2 separate regions of the Homo sapiens genome follow, and region 1 is linked to region 2. The links are contacts of gene promoters, found by promoter capture Hi-C in blood cells and fetal thymus (Javierre and others, 2016). All regions are on one chromosome and are shown on one strand. Each heading gives the region's core, a stretch centred on a gene start or on the middle of the fragment in contact. The rest is flanking DNA. Distances are from core to core; before and after follow the strand shown. Region 1 has its middle 3.2 kb from the start of LINC02733. Region 2 holds the start of FADS3 (fatty acid desaturase 3).

Evidence for each region. The method cuts DNA at HindIII sites, captures the fragments that hold promoters and counts their contacts. A CHiCAGO score of 5 or more calls a contact.
Region 1: a contact is called between a fragment that was not itself captured here and the fragment with the promoter of FADS3 in region 2, in 17 of 17 cell types (neutrophils, erythroblasts, naive CD8 T cells and 14 more). The highest score is 23.2, in neutrophils.

Annotation. Positions count from the first base shown.
Region 1 is chr11:62,083,005-62,088,086 of GRCh38, forward strand. No RefSeq gene overlaps it. Among named protein-coding and RNA genes, the nearest start is that of LINC02733, 3.2 kb to the left of the region's middle. The HindIII fragment of the contact is 4,419 bases long and covers 827-5,082 here.
Region 2 is chr11:61,888,775-61,894,122 of GRCh38, forward strand. It overlaps FADS3 (fatty acid desaturase 3), which reads right to left and starts at 2,771. Exons shown (of 12, transcript NM_021727.5): 1 at 2,395-2,771. The coding sequence starts at 2,607. RefSeq lists enhancers at 1,102-1,791, 1,792-2,480, 2,070-2,239 and silencers at 2,440-2,569, 2,670-3,479. The HindIII fragment of the contact is 11,072 bases long and covers 581-5,348 here.

The sequences.
Region 1 (5,082 bases), core at 1,786-4,285, 190 kb after region 2:
ACCTTGGCCTCCCAAAGTTCTGAGATGATAGGCACGAGCCACCACACCTGGCCATATCTTGCTTTTATTGATCAACATTGTGTTTAAGAATTATTCATGTTGGTACATATATTTCTAGTTGATTCACGTTTACCGCTGAAAAATTCCTCGTATAACTATGCACGTATATATATGTGTGTGTGTGTGTGTGTATCTATATATATATATATATATTTTTTTTTTTTTTTGAGACACAGGTTGTACTGTTGCCCAGGCTGGAATGCAATGGCACAATCTCTGCTCACTGCAACCTCCACCTCCCAGGTTCAAGCGATTCTCCTGCCTCAGCCTCCCGAGTAGCTGGGATTACAGGTGCCTGCCACCATGCCTGGCTAATTTTTTGTATTTTTACTAGAGATGGGGTTTCGCCATCTCTCACTTAACTAAGGTGATCTGCCCGTCGAAGTGCTGGGATTACAGGGGTGAGCCACTGCGCCTGGACTTTTTTTTTTAAATTCATTAAAATAATAGAAAAATAGAGACAGGGTCTTTGTGTTGCCCAGGCTGGTCTCAAATAGCTGAGCTCAAGCAGTCCTCCAGCCTTGGCCTCCCAAAGTGCTGGGATTACAGGTGTGAGCCACTGTGCCTGGTCTTTATGATATCTTTTTGTATTCCAAAGTCATAAGATAGTCATTTAATTTTGAAAATTATTTTAAAAATTTGCTTTTTACATTTAGATGCTTAAATCCCCTTGATTTTATTTATGTAGTTGGTGCAAGGTGAATGCTTCTTTATCTGTATGGGTGACTTTCTCTTGGGCAGGGTACACATTTAAAAGCTCCGAGGAAGCTTTTAAAAGACCATTTCTGGGCCTCATCACAGAACAGATGAAATCAAAATTTCTGAGTGTGGACCTGAGACATCAGATTTAAAAAATAAAAACAAAACTCTCCCAGGCGTTTTTTAACATGGAGCCAGGGCTGAGAATCTTTGCTTTAAGGTCAGACCAAGAGTAGAGTTGCTGGGGTGTGTATTATTCGCATTGTCAGCTATACTGGATGTTGCTGGTGCTCTCTAAAGTGATTAAACTAGGCCGGGCGCAGTGGCTCACGCCTGTAATGCCTGCACTTTGGGAGGCCAAGATAAGCAGATCACCTGGGGTCTGGAGTTTGAGACCAGCCTGGCCAACATGGTGAAACCCCGTCTCTACTAAAAATACAAAAATTAGCCAGGCGTGGTGGCAGGCGCCTGTAATCCCAGTTACTTGGGAGGCTGAGGCACGAGAATTGCTTGAACTTGGGAGGCAGAGGTTGCAGTGAGTAGAGATTGCACTGTTGCACTCCAGCCTGGGCAACAAAGCGAGACTCTGTCTAAAATAAATAAATAAATAAATAAATAAAATAAAGTGATTAAACTATTTATGGTCCTCAAGTAGGAGAATTTCAATTGCTTCACACTTTTGAAAATACATGTTGTGATATTTATATAAAACCAAGAACCATGGATGAAAAAACATATATGTGTGTCTCATATATGTATGCATTTCATATACATATGTGTTATAAACATATATATGTCTTTCATATATATATATATAAAATGTTTTCACCCATGATTCTTGGCTTATAACTCCCATAGCTCTTGTTATTACAGTTTCTGTTATAATGTTAGGGCACTTTAGTTCTCACAAGCAGGCTTCAGGAAACAGAATCTCTCTCTCTCTCTCTGACCTTCTCCTGCCCACCTTTTACCTGCTCCTTTTTTCTCCCCACCTTTTACCTGCTTCTTTTCCTATCTTTCTGTCTAGGAGCTGGTCATGAGGAAATTCTCTGGCCTACTTTGATTGTAGGTCACAATACCCTCATTTCAGACAGGTCCTGCCCTATTCCCTGGAAGGAATGCTGCACAGAGAGACCAAGAAGAATCTGATCAGATGGGCCTTGTTGGGTTTCCCCATTCAGCCTGTTAGTGTTAGATCGTACCCAATCATATTTATTTTATTTATTTATTTATTTATTTATTTATTTATTTATTTATTTTTTGAGATGGAGTCTCACTCTGTCACCTAGGCTGGAGTGCAGTGACGTGATCTCGGCTCACTGCAACCTCCGCCTCCCGGGTTCAAGCAATTCTCCTGCCTCAGCCTCCCAGGTAGCTGGGATTACAGGCTCCCACTACCATGCCTGGCTAATTTTTGTATTTTTAGTAGAGACGGGGTTTCACCATATTGGCCAGGCTGATCTCGAACTCCTGACCTCGTGATCCGCCCGCCTTGGCCTCGCAAAGTGTTGGGATTACAGGCGTGAGCCATCATGCCTGGCAATAAATTATTTCTTCAAATATTGTGGGGATACAACTGCAGAGATCTCAGATTTCAACGTGTTTTTGTCCAATGCTTATACCATTCAGGTTATAACCATTTCAGAAAAGGTCTGTATAATTCTGGCAATTCATGTATGGCCTTGTAGTGTTAGGTTTTTAGGTGTATATGTGGGATATGTGTGGTTTAGGAAAAAAGCCTTGCAACTTTACAAAGCACTGGACATACACTAGCTAGCCTTCTCTTCACTCCTGTCATTACTGATCTGTTTTCCCCATTTTAGTAAATGGTCAAGATTTACCCCTAGAGAAAGAGTCAGCTTGTGGCCAAATTCATGTTTGATAGATCTTCTCAGCTCTAAAACTGAAAGGGAGAAACTTCAGACAGCAGAAAGAGAAAACAAACAAGCAGGGTGGGTGAAATAATTTCCTATGGTTGTTGAAACAAATTACCACAAATTTCGTGGTTTAAAACAACACAAGGCTGGGCTCAGTGGTGCATGCCTGTAATCCCAGCACTTTGGGGGGCCGAGGTGAGAAAATTGCTTGAGCTCAGGAGTTTGAGACCAGCCTGGCAACACAGTGAGACCTTGTCTCTAAAAAATAAAGAAAGAAAGAAGAAAAAGAAAAAAATTCCAAAAACCAAAACCACCCCACACATTTATTATCTTATAGTTCTGGGGTCAGAGGTCCAAAATGGGTCTTTATGAGCTAAAAACCAAGGTGTTATCAGGCCTGCATCCCTTCTTTTTATTTTATTTAATTCTTTTTTTTTTTTTTGGTAGGGATGCAGTCTCACTCTAATGCCCAGGCTGGTCTTGAATTCCTGGGCTCAAGCAATTCACCCATCTCGGCCTCCCAAAGTGCTGGGATTGTAGGCATGAGGAACTGTGCCTGGCCTTACTTTTGGGTTTTTGAGGAAAAGTGTGGTTTAGACACTTGGAAATGTCTTTGTCGAAAAAAAATGTTTTTTAAGTGTACAGTAAAAGCATCACATGGTCTAACCTCATAATAATTCTCCCTTTTTGGAGACCCAAGATTCAACGTGGGCTTTCCCAGAGCTCAGAGATCCAGTTAAAAGATAAGTAGGCCCTATCTAAATAAAATTGATCCCCTTATACAATCCTATGATAGATTTCTATAATTTTATGTTCAATTTGGCATCCATCTTTAATCTTCCTCTAGCACCACCAGACTTTTACTCTCTGTACCTTATGATGTAAATTTTTCTATTTGATTTTCAGCTGAGTTCTTTCCTTTAATATGCACATTTAAGGCTATTTAACTGACAACTGCCTAGTGTTGTGAAACAGGTTATCAAGTATCTGAAAGTCTAAGATAGGAAAAAAAAAAAAAGGTGTGTTTATTAAGTCTATAAGATGTAATTCTTTTTTTTTTTTTTTTTTTTTTTTTTGAGATGGAGTCTCGCACTGTCCACTGGCCTGGAGTGCAGTGGCGCAATCATGGCTTACTACAACCTCCGCTCCCAGCTTCAAACGATTCTCCTGCCTCAGCCTCCCAAGTAGCTGGGATTACAGGTGCCCGCCACCACACCCAGATAATTTTTTTTATTTTTAGTAGAGACAGGGTTCCACTATGTTGGCCAGACTGGTCTCAAACTCCTGACCTCGTGATCTGCCCACCTCAGCCTCCCAAAGTGCTGGGATTACAAGCATGAGCCACTGCGCCTGGCCTTTTTTTTTTTTTTTTTTTTTTGAGACAGAGTCTCTCTCTGTTGCCCAGGCTGGAATGCAGTGGCACGATCTTGGCTCACTGCAACCTCCATCCCCCAGGTTCAAACAGTTCTCCTGCCTCAGCCTCCTGAGTAGCTGGGATTACAAGAGCCCACAACCATGCCCGGCTAATTTTTTGTATTTTTAGTAGAGGTGGGGTTTCACCATGTTGGTCAGGCTGGTCTCAAGCTCCTGATCTCAGGTGATCCACCCATGTTAGCCTCCCAAAGTGCTGGGATTATAGGCGTGAGCCACTGCACCCAACCTATAAGATGTATTTCTATTGGCATTCCTAATACATCTATGTATTTATGTGTTGTATACACAATGTTTCACTACCAAAAATATATAAAAGAGGTCTAATTAATTGGCTTAAAGAAAAATAAAAGCATTGAAATAAAATACTTTATCAGAAAAAGGAAAAACTAGTCAAATTATTTTTCAAGTTTACATGACTTAAGTAAAATCTTTAATAAGTAAGCTAGCTTTAAAATTATTGGTAAAATAATATTAGAAATGTCTTAAGAATTTCCAGCATACATTTTATTTGCATTTATTAATCTAGCAATTTCATACTTATCCTAGCCAAATACTATAAGGTGTCAAAATTTGGCACAGGGGTTACAAAACCATAAACCCAGCCCAAAACAGAATGATTCTTGCTTGCCGATCTTTAATAAACAAGACATTGATATTGTTTAACAAAAATAGCTACATCTGGAATTACTTAGTAAAATTACCATAACTTCTAATCTTGTGGCTTTAGGCAGTCTAGTCTACAGGCAGTAAGGAGGTTTGTTTTGGGAAAGGACTGCTATTGTCTTTGTTTCAATGCTAAACTATAAATTAAGTTCCTCCCAAAATTCAGGAATGAACAAGGACAGCTTGGAGGTTAGAAGCAAGATGGAGTCAGTTAGGTCATATCTTTTTCATTGTCTCAGTTAGAATTTTGCAGTGGCAAGTTTCATAGCTTTAAATGATGACTATCACAGTTTTCATAAATAATCTAGGTAAACAAAATAAAATAACTAGGTAAATGTAATGAGATAAA
Region 2 (5,348 bases), core at 1,521-4,020:
CCAGCTCTCCCACTTTACAGATGAGTAAACTGGGGCACAGAGGAGTGACATGCCTGCTTCAAGGTCGCTCAGTGCCTCCAATAGCAGAGCTGGCACCCGGCCCCAAGGAGCAGAGAGATGTTTTTTGTTTGTTTGTTTGAGACGGAGTTTTGCTCTTGTTGCCCAGGCTGGAGTGCAATGGCGCGATCTCGGCTCACCGGAACCTCCGTCTCCTGGGTTCAAGCGATTCTCCTGCCTCAGCCTCCCAAAGTGCTGGGATTACAGGCATGCGCCACCACGCCTGGCTAATTTTGTATTTTTTTAGAAGAGACAGGGTTTCTCCATGTTGGTCAGGCTGGTCTCAAACTCCCGACCTCAGGTGATCTGCCCACCTCAGCCTCCCAAAGTGCTGGGATTACAGGTGTGAGCCACAGCGCTCGGCCTGAGATGTTTTTAAAACAGATATTATTGGCTGCGAATCAATGAGAAAACTGTGTGATGGAAGTCTCAGGATCCCAAGCTAAATGTTAAGTCAGTAATTCCACTTGGGAGGAACCCCAGCATGGGCCTGGCACCAGGCAGGAAACAGTGATGAAATAAAAGCTTTCTGTATCCCAGCCGGGCGTGGTGGCTCACGCCTGTAATCCCAGCGCTTTGGGAGGCCGAGGTGGGTGGATCACGAGGTCAGGAGTTCGAGACCAGCTTGGCCAACATGGTGAAACCCCGTCTCTACTAAAAATACAATATGCTGGGCGTGGTGGCGCGTGCCCGTAATCCCAGCTACTCGGGAGGCTGAGGCAGGAGAATCGCTTGAACCTGGGAGGCGGAGGTTGCAGTGAGCCAAGATGGCGCCATTGCACTCCAGTCTGGGTGGCAGAGCAAGACTCTGTCTCCGGCGGTTGGTGGGGAGTAAAGTTTTCTGTATCCATACTGTCCTCTAGGTTACAAAAGACTAGAGCAGGCCGGGAGTGGTGGCTCATGCCTGTAATCCCAGAACTTTCGGAGGCTGAGGCAGGAGGAATGCTTGAACCCAGGACTTTGAGACCAGCCCGAGCAACATAGTGAGACCCTGTCTCTATTTTTAAACAAATAATAATAAATAAAATAGATACTTTTTTAGAAAAAGACCAGAGCAGGCATCCACAAGACTCCTTGAAGGGAGGCCAGGGCTCAGCAAGGCCTTTGGGGAGAAGCCGTGCCCCTCACCTCGCCACGCCCTGGCAGAAAGGCAGGCACACACACCACACTCACCCAGACATGCAAACACCTGCACGCTCAAATACTGCCCCCAGGCTGCTTCATCCCACGGCTGTGCTGTCCCCTCGGGCCAGCGTCTGGCGCCTGAACAGCCACGGACAAGGCGTTCTCTTTTTTTTTTTTTTCTTTTTTTAGAATTTCAGGAGGATTCTTATTCTCACTCCTCAGCTTCATGGGGTGGAAGGGGAAAAGAGGGGCTTTCTTCCTCAAAGAGTCCAGTGAAGATTGTCCAACATGCTGGAGATGGCAATCGGCAGAGAGCAGGTGGCCCTGTCAAGAGGGACGCCGACAGTCCTGGGACTGGACAGAACCTCCGCTGCTGCCCAAAAAGCCAGCATTCAGGATTCATGTCCTCGGGTCTTGAAGACCTTCCTGATACCCAGTGTGGCCAACCTAGAAATTTGGAGGGTCAAGGACAGGGCATCGTGGCCCCAACCCCTATTATGCAGGTGGGTAACTAAGGAAAAGGGGCTGGTCGGGCTGCTCCACCACTGGACTCCAGCCAGACAGTACCCTGGGGCCAGGCTACATCCCTGCCTGTCTAGACAGGGGCTGGGATTGGGAAGTTGGGGTCCCCAGGGGCCAGCCTGTTCCTGGGGTGACTGTGCTTCCAGGAGAGGCCCACCCAGCCTGGCTGGCAAAGCCCTCCCACGTGCAGCTGCTAGCCCGGAGAGGTGAGTCACTGTCCCTGAGCCCTTTACAGAAGCTCTTGGGAAAGCCACAGACCTCAGGCCGGCCCAGCCCCCAGCCTCTAATGGCATGTCCTTACCGGCCCCTGGGGACCCTGCCCTGCCCTACCCCTAGCACTCAGCAAGCACCCAGCATGGGGACCCAGAACTGAAACAGGGACCTGGGAGCAACAGGGCAGCCCCTCACCCAGGGCAGGCTCTGCAGCATGACACACCCACCTCTGAGGCCCCCTCCTCCCCCGCAGACCTGCTCCGTGGACAGCTGCGGGTCCTCCACGCAGGGAACTGCCCTCCCTACCCCACATCTGGCCCTGGCTAGTCCACCCCAACTCTGGGTCCCGGCGTGGAGGTCAAAGGTCAGCGAGGGGAGGGAGGATGCTAAGGCCCCACAGGTGGAGCGGGACATCACGCCCACGACCGAGCTCCAGGCTCCACCCGCCGGTGGGTGGCTTCCTTATGGCTTCCTTACCGTGGCGTCCTCAGCGCCGTGGTGGCCGATGAGGCGGCTGCCCCCTGGGTGCCGCTGTGCCCAGCGGCTGATGTCGTAGACGCGGCGCTCGATGACCAGCCACTTGTCGCCGGGCTGGTCGTGCGCGCGGATCTGCTCCCAGCAGAAGGTGGGCAGCGGCGCCCCCGGCTGCGCGGGTCCCTCCCGCGGTCCCGGCTCCCCGACGCCGCCCATGCTGCACGCACGAGTCCTGGGGATCCCAGGCGGTGGCCGAGGTCCGAGCAAGACCCCGAGGGAAGCGAAGAGCGCTCCCGGGCGCCGCCTCCGCCGCCGCCCGCTGCTCCGGCCCCGCCCTGCCGCCGCGGCCGCCGTACGAGCGAGCGTGCGCCTCCCGGCTCGCGGCGCAGGGAACTCCCCGCCTTATAACCGCGCGGACGGCGCCCGCCTCGCCTCGCCTGCCCCCCCGCCCCCGGCCAGGCCCCGGCCCCCAAGGCTGGCTGACCCCCCGCGTCCGCTCCAATCCAGGCGCGGGGCCTCGGTCTCCATTGGCCGCCAGGGAGGGCGGCGTCGAGGCGGCCCGCCCCTCCCGGGAGGACAGCGGCCGCCACCCAGCCCTGCCCCGGGGCACCGTCCCGCCCCCTTTTCCCGGGCTGCCGGCTTCCAGGTTCTTGACTCCACCCGGAGCGCGGGGCCTGGGGACACAACACGCACCTGTTGGGCGTCCCGCAGCGCCTCGCCACGCCCTCGGGAACCGGAGGCGGAGTCCCGGTCTGTGAGCAGCGGGGCCTGGGGGGCTTCCAGCCGCGCGTCCTGCAACGTCAAATCCAGTGCGCCCAGAGGGGGGACGCTGTCTCGGGGTGCCTGTGAACAGCCTTCAAACCATGGGCCCCAATCTCTGCGGGGCCCCCACCGCCGCTGCAGCTCTCTCGGAGCCCTCTGCTGGGGGCGGGTGGCCTCCCCTCCGCCCTCGGCGCTGCAGGGCTGGGGATGCCCAGGGGTGGCCAAGGGGGAGGTAGGGGAGCAGGAGGGCACTGGCGCGTGGAGGCGGGCGCTGCCATCCATGGGCTGAGGACACCTGTGCTTGTTACTGCTTCCCCGCCCCTCTTTTTTGTTTTGAGACAGGAGTCTCACTCTGTCGCCCAGGCTGCAGTGTAGTGGCATGATGTCGGCTCACTGCAGCCTCAACATCCTAAGCTCAGGAGATACCCCCACCTCAGTCTCGGGAGTCCCCAGCTGGGACTACAGGCGCGCCCCATCATACCCGGCTAATTTTTGGTGTTATTTTATTTTTGTAGAAATGGGTCTTGCCATGTTGCCCAGGCTGGTCTTGAACTCCTGGACTCAAGTGACCCTCCCGCCTCCCAAAATGCTGGGATTACAGGCATGAGCCACTGCACCCGGGCCCCATCCGCTTTTTTTAATTTAAATACATTCAAGTCCTTTTGAAAGTGTAGGTAGCTCCCCTAATTGCTTCGGATTTCTTTGTGATAAATATACCTGTTCCTAAAAGTTAAGCGTTCACAGCAGCAAGGAATTCAAATCAGGCTAAAGTTACTTCCAGAGCGCTGGTCGTCAATCTTCCATCAGAACCACCTGAAAGGCTTCCATCAGAACCACCCAGGAGGGTTATTCGGTGGGTCTGGTGTGGAGGCAGAGACTTACATGGCCAGTTCACAGGTGATGCTGACCGGCTGGTTGGGGAAATGCACTTAGAAAACCCTAAGTATATTTCTCTGATATGCTAATATTTTGTCTTGGTCTAAAGAGGACCAGTATCCCCAGAAGGGCAGAGGGGGCGAGTTCTCCCTGGTACCAGGAGCTCCTGCCTTTGCTTGTCAGGACATCCAGCAAGGCCCATGATGTCATCAGGCACCGGGGCTGCCTGGGCCCTCTCCACTGAGGCACCCACTGACCATATCCTGGAACCCCAACCTGGCACATGTGTGTGGGGGTGCAAGAGCATGGCTGGTGGCCCTGGCCCAAGGGGGCTGCAGGCACCCCTACCCCGTACCATGTTCACACAGCACAGGAATGGAGAAGGCAGATTCTTGAAGGAATGCATCCCCTGCACCAAAATCCACTGAAGGCATGGACCTGGCCCTGGCCCCACCTTCAGCAGCCCTGAGTGGTCAGATGTGGCCATCCTAGGGGCTTCTTCCTTGGAGCCAGCCCTGGCCTGGTCTCAGCCCCTGTGTGTGAGGTGGTTGGGGGTTGTGATAGGTTAGAACCTCCACTTTCCCCAGCTGCCCCCAGAAGAGATGGGGAAGATGAAGGGGGGGCCACAGAATCATGCAAGAGCCGTGAGTGAGGGCAGGGATCACAGCCCTATTGGCCAAGTCCTCCTCGAAGGGATCACTGTGGAGGCCAGGCGGAGCTCCTCAGAATGCTCCTCAGGAAAGAGGGGCTGCACACAAATGGGCAACACACACACGAAAAGGTGCTCAGCATTGCTAATCATCAGAGAGCTGCAAATGAAACCACAATGAAATACTGTCTCACACTTGTTAGGAGGGCTCCTATAAAAAAGAAAAAGGCCTGGAATCCCACCACTTTGGGAGGCCGAGGCAGGAGGATTGCTTGAGCCCTGGAGTTCAAGACCAGCCTCGGCAACATAGCAGGAACCCCGTCTTTAATAAATAAATACATAAATGAAAAAATCATGCCAGGCATGGTGGTTCACGCCTGTAATCCCAGCACTTTGGGAGGATCTCTTGAGCCTAGGGGTTCGAGACCAGCCTGGGCAACATGACAAAACCCTATTTCTACAAAAAAAAAAAAAAAAAAACTAGCAGGGCATGGTGGTGCGTGCGCCTGTAGTCCCAGCTACTTAGGAGGCTGAGGTAGGAGGATCGCTTGAGCCTGGGAAGCAGAGGTTGTAGTGCCCCAAGATCATGCCATTGTACTCCAGCCTGGGCTACAGAGGGAGACCTGGTCTCAAAAAATCAAATCACACGTGTTGGCAATGATGCAGAACC